Regions from separate parts of the Homo sapiens genome. Here region 2 is linked to region 1. The links are contacts of gene promoters, found by promoter capture Hi-C in blood cells and fetal thymus (Javierre and others, 2016). All regions are on one chromosome and are shown on one strand. Each heading gives the region's core, a stretch centred on a gene start or on the middle of the fragment in contact. The rest is flanking DNA. Distances are from core to core; before and after follow the strand shown.

Region 1 (7,339 bases), core at 2,363-4,862:
GTGCTGGGATTACAGGCATGAGCTACCTCGCCGGGCCCCAAAATTATTTTCATTAACGAAAATAATTGGAGCAAATAGCTATCTAGGCTTCATGCTGATTAGATTCCTTCTTTTCATTATTATTTATTTTTATAGACAGGGTCTTGCTCTGTCGCCCAGGCTGGGGTGCAGTGGCACCATCATAGCTCACTGCAGCTTCTAACTCCTAGGCTCTGGCGATTCTCTCACCTCAGTCTCCCAAGAAGCTAGGACCACAAGGCTGGAGTCACTATGCCTTGCTAATTAAAAAAAAAACAATTAGAGGAGGGGTCTCACTATGTCTCCTAGGCTCCAGTCTCCCAAAGTGCTATGAATACAGGCATGAGCCACCAAGCCCAGCCTGATTTTGTTTCTTCCAATACAACTTTTTTCCACGTTTTGAAATCTCTTAAATCCGTGAGGATGATTGCATGCGATGGAGTGTCACAATTTAATTACTAGGGCGTTTCCCTCCTCTTTCTTAGTGGCACATACAATGAGGATTTATCTCCCAATCAAAGGTTTCTTAGGGTTGAGACAGTAATAATAATAACACATACTAAAAAACCAAAATGCTGTGTACCAGTCCCTGCTCTAAGCCTTTAAGATGAATGAATTTATTTTAATCTTTACAACAGCGCTGTAAGGTAGGTACTGTTATTATTATCCCCGTTGTACAGATGAGGCAACTGAGTCACACAGAGGTTCAGCAATTTGCCCAAGGTTGTCCCTGGAAAGCAGAGGAACCTGGATTTGAACCCTAGGAACTGAATCTCTAAACCTCTAGCCCTCGGGAGAGCCCTGGGGGACAGATAGTGCTCTGCCACCATACAGGTGGCCAAACTGAGGACTGATTGGCCAGAAGGAGTGGCTTGCACAAGATCAGCAGCCCATGGTAGAGGACTCTTCTCTCTGACTTTCCAGAGGCATAGCCTGGTTCTCCTTTTCCACTGCCCAACTCCCCAGCAGAGCCAGGTGCCCCAGTAAATGTTGCTGGAAGAGCCCAGAATCAGAGGAAAAAGTACTTTCTGTGTGCCAGACACTACTGTACAACAACCTTAATATATATATATAAATTTTTTTTTAAATTGAGACAGGGAGCCAGAAACTGTGGCTCACGCCTGTAATCCCAGCACTTTGGGAGGCGGAGGCGGGTGGATCACCTGAGGTCAGGAGTTCGAGATTAGCCTGGCTAACATGGCGAAAGCAAAATACAAAAATTAGCCAGGCTTGGTGGCGCACGACTGTAGTCTCAGCTCCTCAGAAGGCTAAGGCAGGAGAACTGCTTGAACCCCTGAGGTGGAGGTTGCAGTGAGCCAAGATGGCACCACTACACTTCAGCCTGGGTGACAGTGCGAGACTCCATCTCGAAATAATAATAATAATAATAGAGACAGGGTCTTGCTGTGTTTCTCAAGTTGGTCTCGAACTCCCAGGCTCTAGCGATCCTCCTGCCTTGGCCCCCTAAAGTGCTGGGATTATAGGCGTGAGCTACTGCACCCGGTCTCTACAACAATCTTATAAGGCAGGTACCTTCACTGTCTTCTGTTACAGATGAGGAAACTGAGACACTGAGAGGCAAATACTTTTACCCAAGGTCACTCAGGTAATAAGCAGAGTCAGAAGTAAAACTCAGGCAGTCTGGCTCTGGCGTCCCCTCTACGCTAAACTGCCTCCTATGCCACCAGTTCCTGCCTCAAGGCTTACTGTGGGTTATTTAAATGCGTCGTTAAGATGTAGATCTTTGTGTCCAACACAGGTGTCAGCAGCCACATGTGTCTACCGAGTACTTGAAATGCAGCCAGTATCACCGAGGAACTGAGTTTTAAATTTTATTTAATTTTAATTCATTTAAATTTAAAAACTCTTACTTGATTCGGTTATTGGAAAGATTTTAAATATGTCTGGAACAAGTTGCATCTACGATGCCCCTTTTATAATTGTAAATCTTATAAAATCTAAACACAGATTAGGTATTTCCAGTGAAAAGGTAGCATCTAAGTGAGAAGTGCTATGAACACACTGGATTTTGAAGGCCAAGTCTGGGGAAAAGAAAGTAAAATAGCTCATTAACATTTATGTATTGATTACATATTGAAATGATCATATCTTATATGTAGCAGGGGTCGGCATGCTAAGACCTGCTGCAGCCTGCAGGCTAAGAATTTGTGTGTGTGTTTTTAGATGGTTTTTGAAAGCCAAAAGAAGAATAATAGTTTGTGGAGCATGAAAAATATGAAATTCAAATTTCAGTGTCCTTAAAGGAAGTTTTATTTGCATACAACCACATTCATTTGTTTATACATCATCTGTGGCTGATTCTACATTTACCACATCGAAGTTGAGTACTTTCAAAAGAGACCAGATGGCCCCCAAAAGCCTCAAATATTTAATATTGGGCCCTTTATTTAAAAAAATGTGCTGGCCCCTGACACACTGGGTTAAATAAAAATATATTATTAAAATTAATTTCACCTGTTTGTTTTTACTTTTTCAAATGTGGCCACAAGAAAATTTTAAATTAGATATTGTGGTTTTCGTTACATTTCTAGAGGACAAAACTGAGGTACAGCTTTTAAACTCTCAACATTAAACATTATTCTTTCTTCTCGAATCCCCCTTCTCTCTTCCTTTGCTTCAAACCTGGCCTTGCCTGAGTTCCTAGGGATGGCTCAATTCATGCTGGGGATCCAGAGAGTTGATTCCAGAAACACAGATGAACACACGTGTAGACACACTCCCCCACACGTGAACTCACACATGATGAGTGACACACAGAATGAAATTACTCGTGTTCTACAGGATGACCCGAGACACCCACTCAGGCCAAACACAGCGATCCCGTGACCCCCACCGACGGCCACACAGGTGAACCTGCAGACACACACCCCTCAGCAGGAAAAAGCAACACCAGCAAAGGATGTCCACGTGGCCACAAACACACAGAGCCCCAACTGAGAGTCTGGGGCAATGGGATGCACAGGGAAGATTTCAAGAGAAATAGTAGGTGACTGTCAAGCTGATACTGAACCAGATGAAATTGCTATTCTTCCAAGTTTAGAGTGGCTCAGTATCGGCGATTTCATTTGGTTCAACTTAATAGCTATTGAACGCATGAAACAGAAATCCATTCCCATGTGCCACAGGCAAATCCAACTCTCTTTCTCACTCAGTCTCTTTCATTCGCTCACTGTCGCACTCCCTCTTTCTCTCTGCCTCCCAGGGAACATAGACATACACAAGTTTGTAGCAAGATACGCAGATACAGAAATACGGACATGGCACGTCTCACCTACATGTACTTGGGATGGCCGCTCACACAGGGCAATGTATACACAGACCTGCACACTCAGCCTCACATGCTCACTGTCCCCTACACACATATGGTCACTGTCAGGCACATGGATACACACATGAAATCATGCACACACAGTTCCCCAACACACGTGGTCACACATATGGCAGTAGTTTTCCCCACATGGCTGTATACACACACACACACACACACACACACACACACACACACACCTGTCTCATCGCAGTGGGTCTGGCCGGGCTCTCTCTTCTCTCCGGCTTGCTCTCCCAGCCTCTCTGTGGCCAGAGAGCTGGAGGGGGGTCATTTGAAGACCAGCGCAGGCGGGGGCGGGAGCGAGCGCTGACGTCAGTCAGGCTAAGCTGGGCCAGGGGCTCTGAGGTCACGGCCCAGCCGGGCAGCTCCACCCGCTTCCCGCTATTACTCCCACCCCCCTCAGCCAGACGGGCCTCCCTTCCCAGGCCCCCATGTCTACCCGCGCCCCTCCTCTAGTCCTCTCTGCCATCACTCCCCCTCCTCTCCCTCCCTCCTCTATGTCTTCTTCTCTCTTCCTCCCCCCTCTCGTCCCTTGTCTCCCCTGATTTTTCTCTTCCACCTCACTTGCATTTTGGGGGTTCCCCTCATCCCCCCATCCCCTATCCCTGTATTTCCCTCCATCCCTTTCTTTCTCCCTAACCCACTATTTCTCCTCATCTCTTTGTTGGTACCCTCATCTCTCTCCCCATTACCACATTTCTCCAAGTTTCTGTCTTTCTCTCCATCCCTTTCTTCCTCTCCACTTCTCTTGCCTCCTCTCACCCTCATTTCTTTCTCTTCTTGCTTTAAAGCTCTCCCCACCTCCCCCTTCTCACCTTCCCCAGTCACCCCCGCCCTGCTTCTCCCCACAGCCGCCTCTCCTGTCCCCAGAATCCATCTCTGGGTTGGGCCCCCCAGGGACATGTCTCAGCAACTGGCAGATGGAACGAAACTCACACACGTGCGTGCTGTGGGTGTGCCTGTGTGTACGCTGGCCCGAGGCACGGCTGCCTGGAACCGGAGCTGTGAGTGAACATCTGTCCATTCAGCGCCTAACTGACGTGGGTCTGCGTGTGTGCACCAGGGTCTGGGGTGGAGAGCTGGGGCGCTGGGATTTGTATCCCCAGGGACTCAGGGATGAACACAGAGAGTTGTCGGTCAGCTGACCCTGGGGAGCCAGCCGGGGTCTGTCAGTGCTGTCACCCATCAGGGAAACTGAGTCAGAGGAAGGGTGAAAAGAGATGCGGGACCTGGGGTGCCCGAACCCCAGCCCCTCAGGACCAGATCTGTGATAAATGTCTGTTTACATGCCCTTCTTTCCATGAATTTTTTAAAAAAACTATCTGTATCTAATTCTGTTCTTCTCTCTGCTCCTCTTACTGTGAACTATTGATGTCTCACTTTCGGCCTTGGTAGCTGCCTCGGTAGCTGCCTCGTTCTTTTCTCCCTGCCTGTGACTCCAACGACCTTTGGTGTCTGGCACGGGCCAGCTCCAGGACAGGCTGAAAGACATGGAGCAGCAGAGAGAAATTCCCCCGTGCTTCTCTCTCCTCGTCTGTCCCTCCCCAAATCTCTGTCATTTTGTATCTGTCACCCCATCTCTGTTTCTCGGTCCCTCTATTTGGGTCTCTGCCTCTGTGTATTCCTGTCTGTTTCTCCTCCTCATCCCCCCTCACAGCCATTCTCTCTCTGCTTTTACCTGGGAGTGTCTGTCCCTTTGCATTTCTGAAGTCTCCCTGACTTTCTTCTTGTGTGGCTCTCTTTCTTTCTGAGTGCCTCTCCCTGACTTTCTCACTGTGTGTCCATGTGTGTGTGTCTCTTTCTCTCTGTCTCTTTTTCCCTCTATCTCCCTCCCTCTCTAGCTCTGTCTCTATCCTCCTTCCGTCTCTCTGCATCCCCATCTCTCTCTTTTTTTTTTTTTTTTTTTGAGACGGAGTCTCACTCTCTCACCTAGGCTGGAGTGCAGTGGCGTGAGCTCGGCTCACTGCAACCTCCGCCTCCCGGGTTCAAGCGATTCTCCTGCCTTAGCCTCCCGAGTAGCTGGAACTACAAGCGCCCACCACCACACCTGGCTAATTTTTTGTATTTTTAGTAGAGATGGGGTTTCACTATGTAGGCCAGGCTGGTCTCCAACTCCTGACCTCAAGTGATCCATCTGCCTTGGCCTTCCAAAGTGTTGGGATTACAGGCGTGAGCCACCGCACCTATCTCTTTGTAAGGCTCTATCTCTGTATGTGTTTCTCTGTCTCTGTCTCTCTCATTCAGTTTCTCTCCATTTCTCTGTTTCTACATCTTCGTCTCTCCCTGCAGTTCCATCTCTTCCAGCCTGTCCCGGAGCTCTCCCCTGCCAGACACCAAGTCCTCACACCAAGTCCTCACACCCTGGGGTTTTCCCCGAGGAGGCTGCGCCAGGCCAAGCCTCTGCCTGGGCCTGTCAGGGAGAAGGTGCATTCCCAAGGAGCTCGAACGCCCTTCCCACCCACCAGGGCGGGCCGGGCTGTGTCTGACGCTGTTGCCGGGAGCCGGGCTGCCTGGTGTCTGGCTGTGTCAGGATGATGGGTCCTCAGATGATCTGAGGCCAGCCCAGAGCAGAAGGGGAGGGTGAGTCCTCCGCCCAGTGGGAGGGGGCAGCGCAGGCTCCTCCCCAGAAGTGGGGCATTTGGCTGCCCAGCCCCCACCCCGCCCTGCTCGGGTGGAGCAGCTGTATAAAACCAGATGTTTCTAAAACCAGAGTGCGGTTGAGGAAGGATAACCAGGGCTTTAATCCTCAACAGTTCCCTCCTCTAAGACCCAGGAGTCCAGGTTCCCAGCACCCTCCTCCTTCAGACCCGAGAGTCCAGACCCCAGCCCTTCCTCTCTCAGGCCCAGGAGTCCAGGTTCCCATGTCCCTCCTCCCTCAGACCCAGGATCCCAGACACCCAGCCCCTCCTCCTTCAGACCCAGGAGTACAGGTTCAGAGTTCCTCATCCCTCAGACCCAGGGTCCAGACCCCCAGTCCCTCCTCCCTGAGACCCAGGAGTCCAGGCCCCCAGCCCCACCTCCCTCAGACCCAGAAGTCCAGGTCCCCAGCACCCCTCCCTCAGACCCAGGAGTCCAGGCTGCCAGCCCCGCCTCCCTCAGACCCAGGAGTCCAGGCCCCATCCCCTCCTCCCTCAGACCCAGGAGTCCAGGCCCCATCCCCTCCTCCCTCAGACCCAGGAGTCCAGGCCCCATCCCCTCCTCCCTCAGACCCAGGAGTCCAGACTCCATCTCCTCCTCCCTCAGACCCAGGAGTCCAGGCCCCCATCCCCTCCTCCCTCAGACCCTGGAGCCCAGGCCCAGGCCCCCATCCCCTCCTCCCTCAGACCCAGGAGTCTCAACTCCCAGCTTCCTTCTCCCTTAGACCTACATGTCCAGCCCCCAGAATTTCTTGCAGGAAGAGATGACCAAGGCTGGAAGCAGCCCAGACAAGTGCTGAAAGACAGGGAGCAGTGAAGCTGAACACTCCCACAGCAGGCCGGGGCTGTTGTTGGAGGGACAGGTAGGGACACCGCACCCCTCGCTAACACCCATGGCTCCTAGAAACCCCCATTCCTCTGGTGGCTGCTCTCCAGTTCCTGCCCTGGGTCCACAGTGGCCTTCCCAGCATTTCAGCCATCATCAGGAAACCTCAGGGTACAGCTTACAGAATACCTGGACAGAAGGAGCACAGGGTGGGAGAGGTAAGGCAAAAATGGAGCAAAGGCAGAGGAGAGAACATTCATTCATTGTGGGGACATCTCCTGAGCCCTGGTGGACAGGGCTGGGCTGGGCGATGCCGGGCACACAGAGATGACTCAGCCCTGGGCCCTGCCCTTGGGGAGATGCCAATCTGGTGGAGAAGACAGCTGTGTAAACAGAGGGCCACAAAACAGTACAAGGATGCACCAACCCAGCCCAAGAGTCAGGGAGGGCTTCCTGGAGGAGGTGATGCTGGCTGATGAGGCGTTAGCCGTGGTCAGGGTGGTGGTGGAC
Region 2 (7,339 bases), core at 2,720-5,219, 54 kb after region 1:
CTGTCTGGATGTACCATCATTTATTTATCCATTCACCTACTGAAAAACATCTTGGTTGCTTCCCAATTGGACAATTATAAATAAAGCTGCTATAAACATCCATGTGCAGGTTTTTGTGTGGACAGAAGTTTATAACTTGTTTGGATAAATACCAAAGAACATGATTGCTGGATTGTATGGTAAGCATATGTTTAGTTGCATGGGAAACTGCCAAACTCTCTTCCAAGGTGGCTGTATCATTTTGCATTCCCACCAATAATGAATGAGGATGTTCCATGTCTTTGCCAGCATTTGGTTGTGTCAGTGTTCTGGATTTTGGCCATTTCTAATAGGTGTAGGGTGGTATCTCACTGTTTTAACTTGCATTTCCCTGATGATATATGATGTGTATCACCCTCTCATATGTTAACCTGGCATCTGTATATCTTCTTTCTTGAGGTGCCTGTTAAGGGCTTGGCCCATTTTTAAAATGGGCTTTCTGTGTCCTTATTGTTGAGTTTTAGGAGTTCTTTGAATATTTTGGATAACAGTCCTTTATCTGATATGTCTCCTGCAACACTCTCCCATAGAGCAGATTTTTTTTTTTTTTAGATTTTTTTTTTTTTGAGACAGAGTCTCACTCTGTCACCCACACTGGAGTGCAGTGGCACCATCACAGCTCACAGCAGCCTCAACCTCACGGACTCAAGTGATCCCCCCACTTCATCCTCCCAAGTAGCTAGGACTGCAGGTATGCACCACTATGCCCAGCTAATCATTTATTTTCTGTAGAAATGGGGGTCTCACTTTGTTGCCTAGGCTGGTCTCAAATTCCTGGGCTCAAGTGATCCTCCCACCTCAGCCTCCCAAAGTGCTGGGATTACAGGTGTGAGCCACCATGCCCAGCCAGAAATTTTCAATTTTAATAAGAATTGCCTTCTTGATTCTTTCTTTCACGGATTATATCTTTTGTTTTGTAATTACAAAGTCATTGTCAAACCAAACGTCATCTAGATTTTCTCCTATGTTATCTTCTAGGTGTTTTATAGTTTTGTCTTTTACATTTAGGTCTGCGATCCATTTTAAGTTAATTTTAGCAAAGCATGTAAGGTCTGTTTCTAAAGTTACTTTTTTGCACATGGATGTCTAGTCATTCCAGAACCATTTGTTGAAAAGACTATCTTTTCTCCATTGAATTGCCTTTGCTCCTTTGATAAAGATCACTTGACAATATTAATGTGAGTCTATTTCTGGGCTCTCTTATTCAGTTCCATTGATCTATTTGTCTGTTCTTTTGCCTGTAGTACACTGTCTTGGTTACTGTAGCTTTACAGTATGTCTTGAAATCAGATGGTGTCAGTCCTCCAACTTTGCTCTTCTTGTTCAATATTATGTTGGCTATACTGGGTCTTTTCCCTGTCCATGTAAACTTTAGAATCAGTTTGTTATATCCACAGAATAAATTGCTGGAATTTTTATTGGGATTGTACTGAATCCAAAGATCAAATTGAGGAAAACTGACATCTTGACAATCTTGAATCTTCCTAGCCCTGTACATGGACTATCTCTCAATTTCTTCAGTTCTTCTATAATTTCTTTCATCAGAGTGTTGTAGTTTTTCTCATATAGATCTTGTACATATTTTGTTAGATTTTTACTCAGTGTTTCATTTCTGAGGGACATAATGTAAATAGTATTGTGTTTTTAATTTCAAATTCCATTTGCTCACTGTTGGTATCTAGGAAAGTGATTGATTTTTTTGTACTCTGCAACCCTGCTATAATCACTTATTACTTCCAGGAATGTTTGTTATCCAATCTTTTGGATTTTCTGCATAGATGATCATGTCAGTTGTGAACAAAATAGTTTTTTTTTCTTCCTTTCCAATATGCATACCTTTTTAGTTTGTTTTTAATTGAATTAGCTAAGACTTCAGCAATGCTGAAAACCAATATGAGAGAAGACGTCCTTGCCTTGTTCCTGGCCTTACTGGGAAAGCGTCAAGTTTCCCACTGTTAAGTATAATGTTAGCTGTAGGATTTTTTGTAGGCATTGTTTATCAGATTGAGGAAGTTCCTCTTTATTCCCAGGTTACTGAGCATTTTTAAAAATTATGAATGAGTGTTGAATTTTGTCAAATACTTTTTCTGCTTCTACTGATATAACTATGTGGTTTTTTCATTAGTCTGTTGATGTAATTGATTACATTAATTAATTTTTGAAATTTGAACTAGACTTGCATACCTGGCATGAATAATTTTTATACTTTGTTTTATACATTACATTATAGTAGTTTAGACATTTTTGGGTTTGATTTCCTAATATGTTTTTGAGAATTTTTGCATCTATGTTCATGAGAGTTATTGGTCTGTAGTTTTGTTTTCTTGTAATGTCTTTAAATGGATTTGGTTATTAGGGTGATCGTGGATTTATCATGAGTTAGAAAGTCCTCCTTCTGTGTCTGTATTCTCAAAGTTCCTCATTCTTTTTAATTTTTGCATTGTATTTTATTGGATGAATGTAACAAAATTTAATCTGACCAAATTGCTTTTGATCTTTTGCTCATTACAAAAAAAAAGCTACAATGAATACCTGTGCACACACACATTCCTTTGCATGACTGTGTGTTTGTCTATAGAAAAAAATTACAATAGTTTGTAACCTAAGTGTCTATCAACAGATGAATGAACAAAAAAAAATTGTTCATATACATAATGGAGTACTATTCTGCCATGAAAAATAATGAGACTCTGTCATTTGCAACAACATGGATGGAACTGGAGGTCATTATGTTAAGTGAAATGGATCAGGCACAGAAAGACAAACTTTGTATGTTCTCACTTATTTGTGGGAGCTAAAAATCAAAACAATTGAACTCATGGAGATAGAGAATAGAAGGATGGTTACCAGAAATTGGGAAGGGTGGCAGGAGTCGGGGGAGAAGTGGGGATGGTTAATGCGTACAAAAAGAACAGAAAGAATGAATGAAACCTAGTATTCAAAGGCACAATAGAGTGAATATAGTCAATGATAAGTTAATTATATATTTTTTAAAAACTAAAAGAGTATAACTGGATTCTTTATAATCCAAAGGACGAATATTTGAGGGAATGGATACTCTATTTTCTATGATGTGATTATTACACATTGCATGCCTGATATCAAAGTATCTCATGTACCCCATAAATATATACAACTACTATGTACTATGTACCGACAAAAATTAAAAATTAAAAAAAGTAATACTAAAAAAGATCGTTTGTAATTTAGTTGATTTCTCTGCTCTTATCTACTATCAGAGCTATAAAGCCCATTGCCACATCTTAGGAAGACAACTTTTCTGAAAAACAAATAGTGATCTATTTCTTGACATGAGTGGGAGTACATGAGCATTTTGTTTTACACAAATATATTAATCTTCACGTTTATCTTTTTCTCATTGTGTGTGTTTGTGTGTGGGGTGGTTGTTATAGTCCACATTTTAAAAGCTAAGAGAAATAAGTCAGCTGGATGTAGCGGCTCATGCCTGTAACCCCACCACTTTGGGAGGCCGAGGTGGGCGAATTGCTTGGGCCCAGGAGTTCGAGACCAGCCTGGGAAACATAGTGAGACCTCGTCTCTACTGAAAATACAAAAATTACCTGGGCTTGGTGGTGCGTGCCTGTAGATCCAGCTGAAGGACTGGGGCTGAGGTGGGAGGATAGCTTGAGCCCGGGAGGCGAAGGCGGCAGTGAGCTATGATTGTGGCACTGCACTCCAGCCTGGGTGACACAGCGAGACCTTGTTTCAAATAAAAGAGGAAAAAACGAAAAATAAGTCAATCGAATTCGGGTCCCCTTTTCTTTATACCAGTAAAGCTTCATAGCTCCTGAAATTAGGCTGCTTGAAGCAGGACACCTTTCATATAGGTGCTGCAATTCTCTAAATTCATACTTGCTAGGACAGGGAGGGTCAAAGGCAGCAGGAGGAAGCCATCCCCGGCATGACTGGCTCGGGTCTCCTGGGCTCGTGAAAACGAACTCATTAGACATCGAGCTCCCTCTTGTGGCAGCTAAAAGAAAACACAAGGAAATGCAACTCTTGCTTCACTCAGTTCTGTGACCGCATTGGGAGATAACCCTTGGAAAGCTTGATTATTTGTGGGCTAGCTCGCCCAGAATACATTTCTAAGCACATCTGTACAAGTAACTTTGTTCTTTCAATGCAGAAAGTCCCCTTCATTCCAAAATGTACATTCCAGAGACGGTGGAGGCTAGAGATCTCTCCTGTATCTCATCCCATTCTATGAGTTACCAGTGCCATTAGACGAAAGAAAGTCCATGTAAATGCTTAGGATGCTGGCGACTGTTCAACTGTGATTCCATTCTATCTTTCCATCTCATGCCTCCTGCGGCTCCAAACACCATCTAGTTAACTGCGTCCCGAATGTTGACCTACACTGATGCTGTTTCATCAGAGTCAATTGGGGAGGTGTTTGTTTGTTTGTTTGTTTGTTTTAATATGGGTTAGGTCACTGCAACATCAAAGCATCTTGATTTATAAAGTTTGGAGCAGAGCACAATAATCTGTGTTTAATCACAGATTAACTTTGTTCCCTTTAGGTATTCCCTGGTAAATTGTAATGTGCAATCAGATTCCCCTGTTTTCTTTTTTTGTTTTGTTTTGTTTTTGAGTCAGGGTCTTGCTCTATGGTCAAGGCTGGAGTGCAGTGGTGCAATCATAGCTCACTGAAGCCTCAACCTCACCAGCTCAAGCGATCATCCCACCTCTGTCTCCCGAGTAGGTGGGACCACAGGAACATGCCACCACACGGGGCTTATTTCTGTGTGAGCCACTGCGCCCAGCAATGATTCCCCTGCTTTCTAGCAGTTGAATAAATACTCTTTTAACTAGAGGACATAATAAGAACTAATATTAGACCATGAGAATTAGAACTAATATTACCTCTTGGAAACACGGATATATCTTTATGGTCCACACCATAGAACAAATGGTCTTTTTTATATGCGGTGGTAACACAGCCATTGGGAGGGAAACATGGGGAGAAGTCCTAGTTAGGAAAGCAAATTTGGAGAGTGAGGCTGTGATCGTGAAATCACAGGTGTGGACAAGCTAAGCTGTCAATACTTTGTTCTTCTGAAAGAAGAGGTTCTCAGCAACAGTGAACAGAATTAATAATTTATCAGAAAAAAGTCCCCCATGCCCTTTACACCTCAATTCTTACCACAAATAGCAAACCAACTAAATCTGGATCTGATTTTTGTATGTACACACAAAGCACATAACAGTTACTGAGAAACACAGTGAAAGAGGAAGGACAACCTCTGATACAAAAAGAGCCAATATCGCCTCCAAAAACTATGTCCCTTACTCTCCCTCCCTCAGGTCCTAACACTAACTTCCTGTCCCAATTTGTAGGGAAGTAGGTGCTCAATGGTTCCTCTTGCCCAGTGTGTTCTCTTCCAGTTGAAATGGCAATCTAGGCATAAAGTTTGGAAGATAGAGTCAAAGAATTAACTACTAATGATGGAGATTTTGTGAGACCCACACAGAGTTGGGAGGCTTGCTGGTTGATAAAACTCCTGGCAATTCATAATGTTTCACCTATTCTAAGTCACACTTGAGCTAATATTATACCAGGTTGTCCCTGTGTTAGTTATCTATTGCTGCAGGCAAATCACCCTCAAAACATGGCTTAAAACAATAGTAATCTAATTTACTATCTGTTACAATTTCTCTGGGTCAGGAATTTGGAAGTTTCTGGCTTGAGTGTTTCTGGATTGAAATCTCTCATGAGTTTGTAGTCAGATGTGAGCTGAGGCTGCAATTATCTGAAGGCTTGACTGAGGCTAGAAAATTCACTTCCAGGTGACATAATCCCATAGATAATGAGTTGTTGCTGGAAAGTTGCTTCCTCACCACAGAACTGCTGGAGTAGTCTCATAACGTGGCTGATGGTATCTCCCAGGATGAGTGATCTGAGGGGGAAAGCGTTAAATGGAAGTTTCATTCTTTTTATGAACTACACTTGGAAGGGATATAGCATTACTTCTGCCATACTCCATTGGTCAGGGCAGTCACAAGTCCTGGTCCAGATTGAAGAGGAGGGGGAAAAAATCCTCACTTCTCTGTGGAAGGAGTGGGAGGAGTGTGAATTACCTGTACAGACAACATGTGGGATGAGATAAATATGTAACATAGATATCAGTGGAAAATATAGTCTGCCACTGTCTCTAGAGATCATTCTAGATAGTCAAATCACGGTAAACATTTTACCAGTCACGATGGGTATCTAGACTATGGGAATAGGAATGTAATTTCAAGCCCAGTTTTAAGAAAGGGCAAGATTTTAAAAATTTATATAGGTTATGCTGTTGTACATCAAGTACAATTTCTTCCCAGTTGGCACCTCCTATCCCGTTCTTGTTACAGTCAAAAAACCATAAGAGGAAGTAGATACATTCAGAGAAATCTAGTTTCTATCCTTGATCATTCTAACATGTTTCCTGCTTCTACAGTTTCAGTGGCAGGAACAGAAGCTGTTCCTGGGATCAGCAACATGGACTTTGACTTGCCAAGGCCAATCTGGCTACACTCACTGCTGAGTGCCCAATCTGCCCACAGCAGAGATGGACACTGAGTCCCTGATATGGCACCATTCCCTGGGTAATCACCCAGCTCCCCAGTGGCAGGTTGAACACACTGGACCACTTCCCTTGTGGGAGAAGCAGAGCCTCGTTTTTATCGGGATAGATGTTAACTCTGAACATGAATGTGCTTTCTCTGTACATAATGCTTCTGCCAAAACTATCATCTGTGGACTTACAGAATGCCTTGTCCATCATCATGGCATTCCATACAGCATTGGTTTGATTGTGGGATTAAATTCACAGCAAATAAACTGTGGCAATGGGTCCACACTCTGGAATTCACTGGTCCTACCATATTGTCCATTTTGAGTAGCCGGCTTGAAGGAATGGTAGGATGACCTTTTGAAGACTTACCCAAGTACCAGCTAGCAGGCAATACCTTGCAGGGCTGGAGCAATATCCTTTAGGAAGCTATACATACTCTAAATCAGCACTCAGTGTATGGTGCTCTCTCTCCCATAACTAGAATCCAAGGATCCAGGAATGAAGGGGTAGAAATGGGAATTGTATCACTCATTATTACCTTTAGTGATCCACTAGAAAAATTTCTGCTTCCCATCCTCATGACCTTATGCTGTGTTGGCTCAGAGGTCTTGGTTCCAAAGGAAGAAATGTATCCACCCAGCGACACAACAATGTTTCTACTGAACTGGAAGGTACCACTGCCCATCACTACTTTGGGCTCCTCTTGCTCTGAATCAGCAGGCAAA

The links. Contacts are between HindIII fragments. The CHiCAGO score rates a contact against its expected background, and 5 or more counts as called.
Region 2: a contact is called between a fragment that was not itself captured here and the fragment with the promoter of HAS1 in region 1, in 2 of 17 cell types (monocytes and neutrophils). The highest score is 10.2, in monocytes.

The regions. Positions count from the first base shown.
Region 1 is chr19:51,720,379-51,727,717 of GRCh38, forward strand. It overlaps HAS1 (hyaluronan synthase 1), which reads right to left and starts at 3,613. Exons shown (of 5, transcript NM_001297436.2): 1 at 3,547-3,613. The coding sequence starts at 3,555. The HindIII fragment of the contact is 33,518 bases long and covers 1-7,339 here.
Region 2 is chr19:51,774,025-51,781,363 of GRCh38, forward strand. It overlaps LOC105372448 (a long non-coding RNA gene), which reads right to left. Exons shown (of 3, transcript XR_936049.2): 2 at 7,153-7,322; 3 at 5,675-5,957. Among named protein-coding and RNA genes, the nearest start is that of FPR2, 17 kb to the left of the region's middle. RefSeq lists a silencer at 3,792-4,086. The HindIII fragment of the contact is 271 bases long and covers 3,835-4,105 here.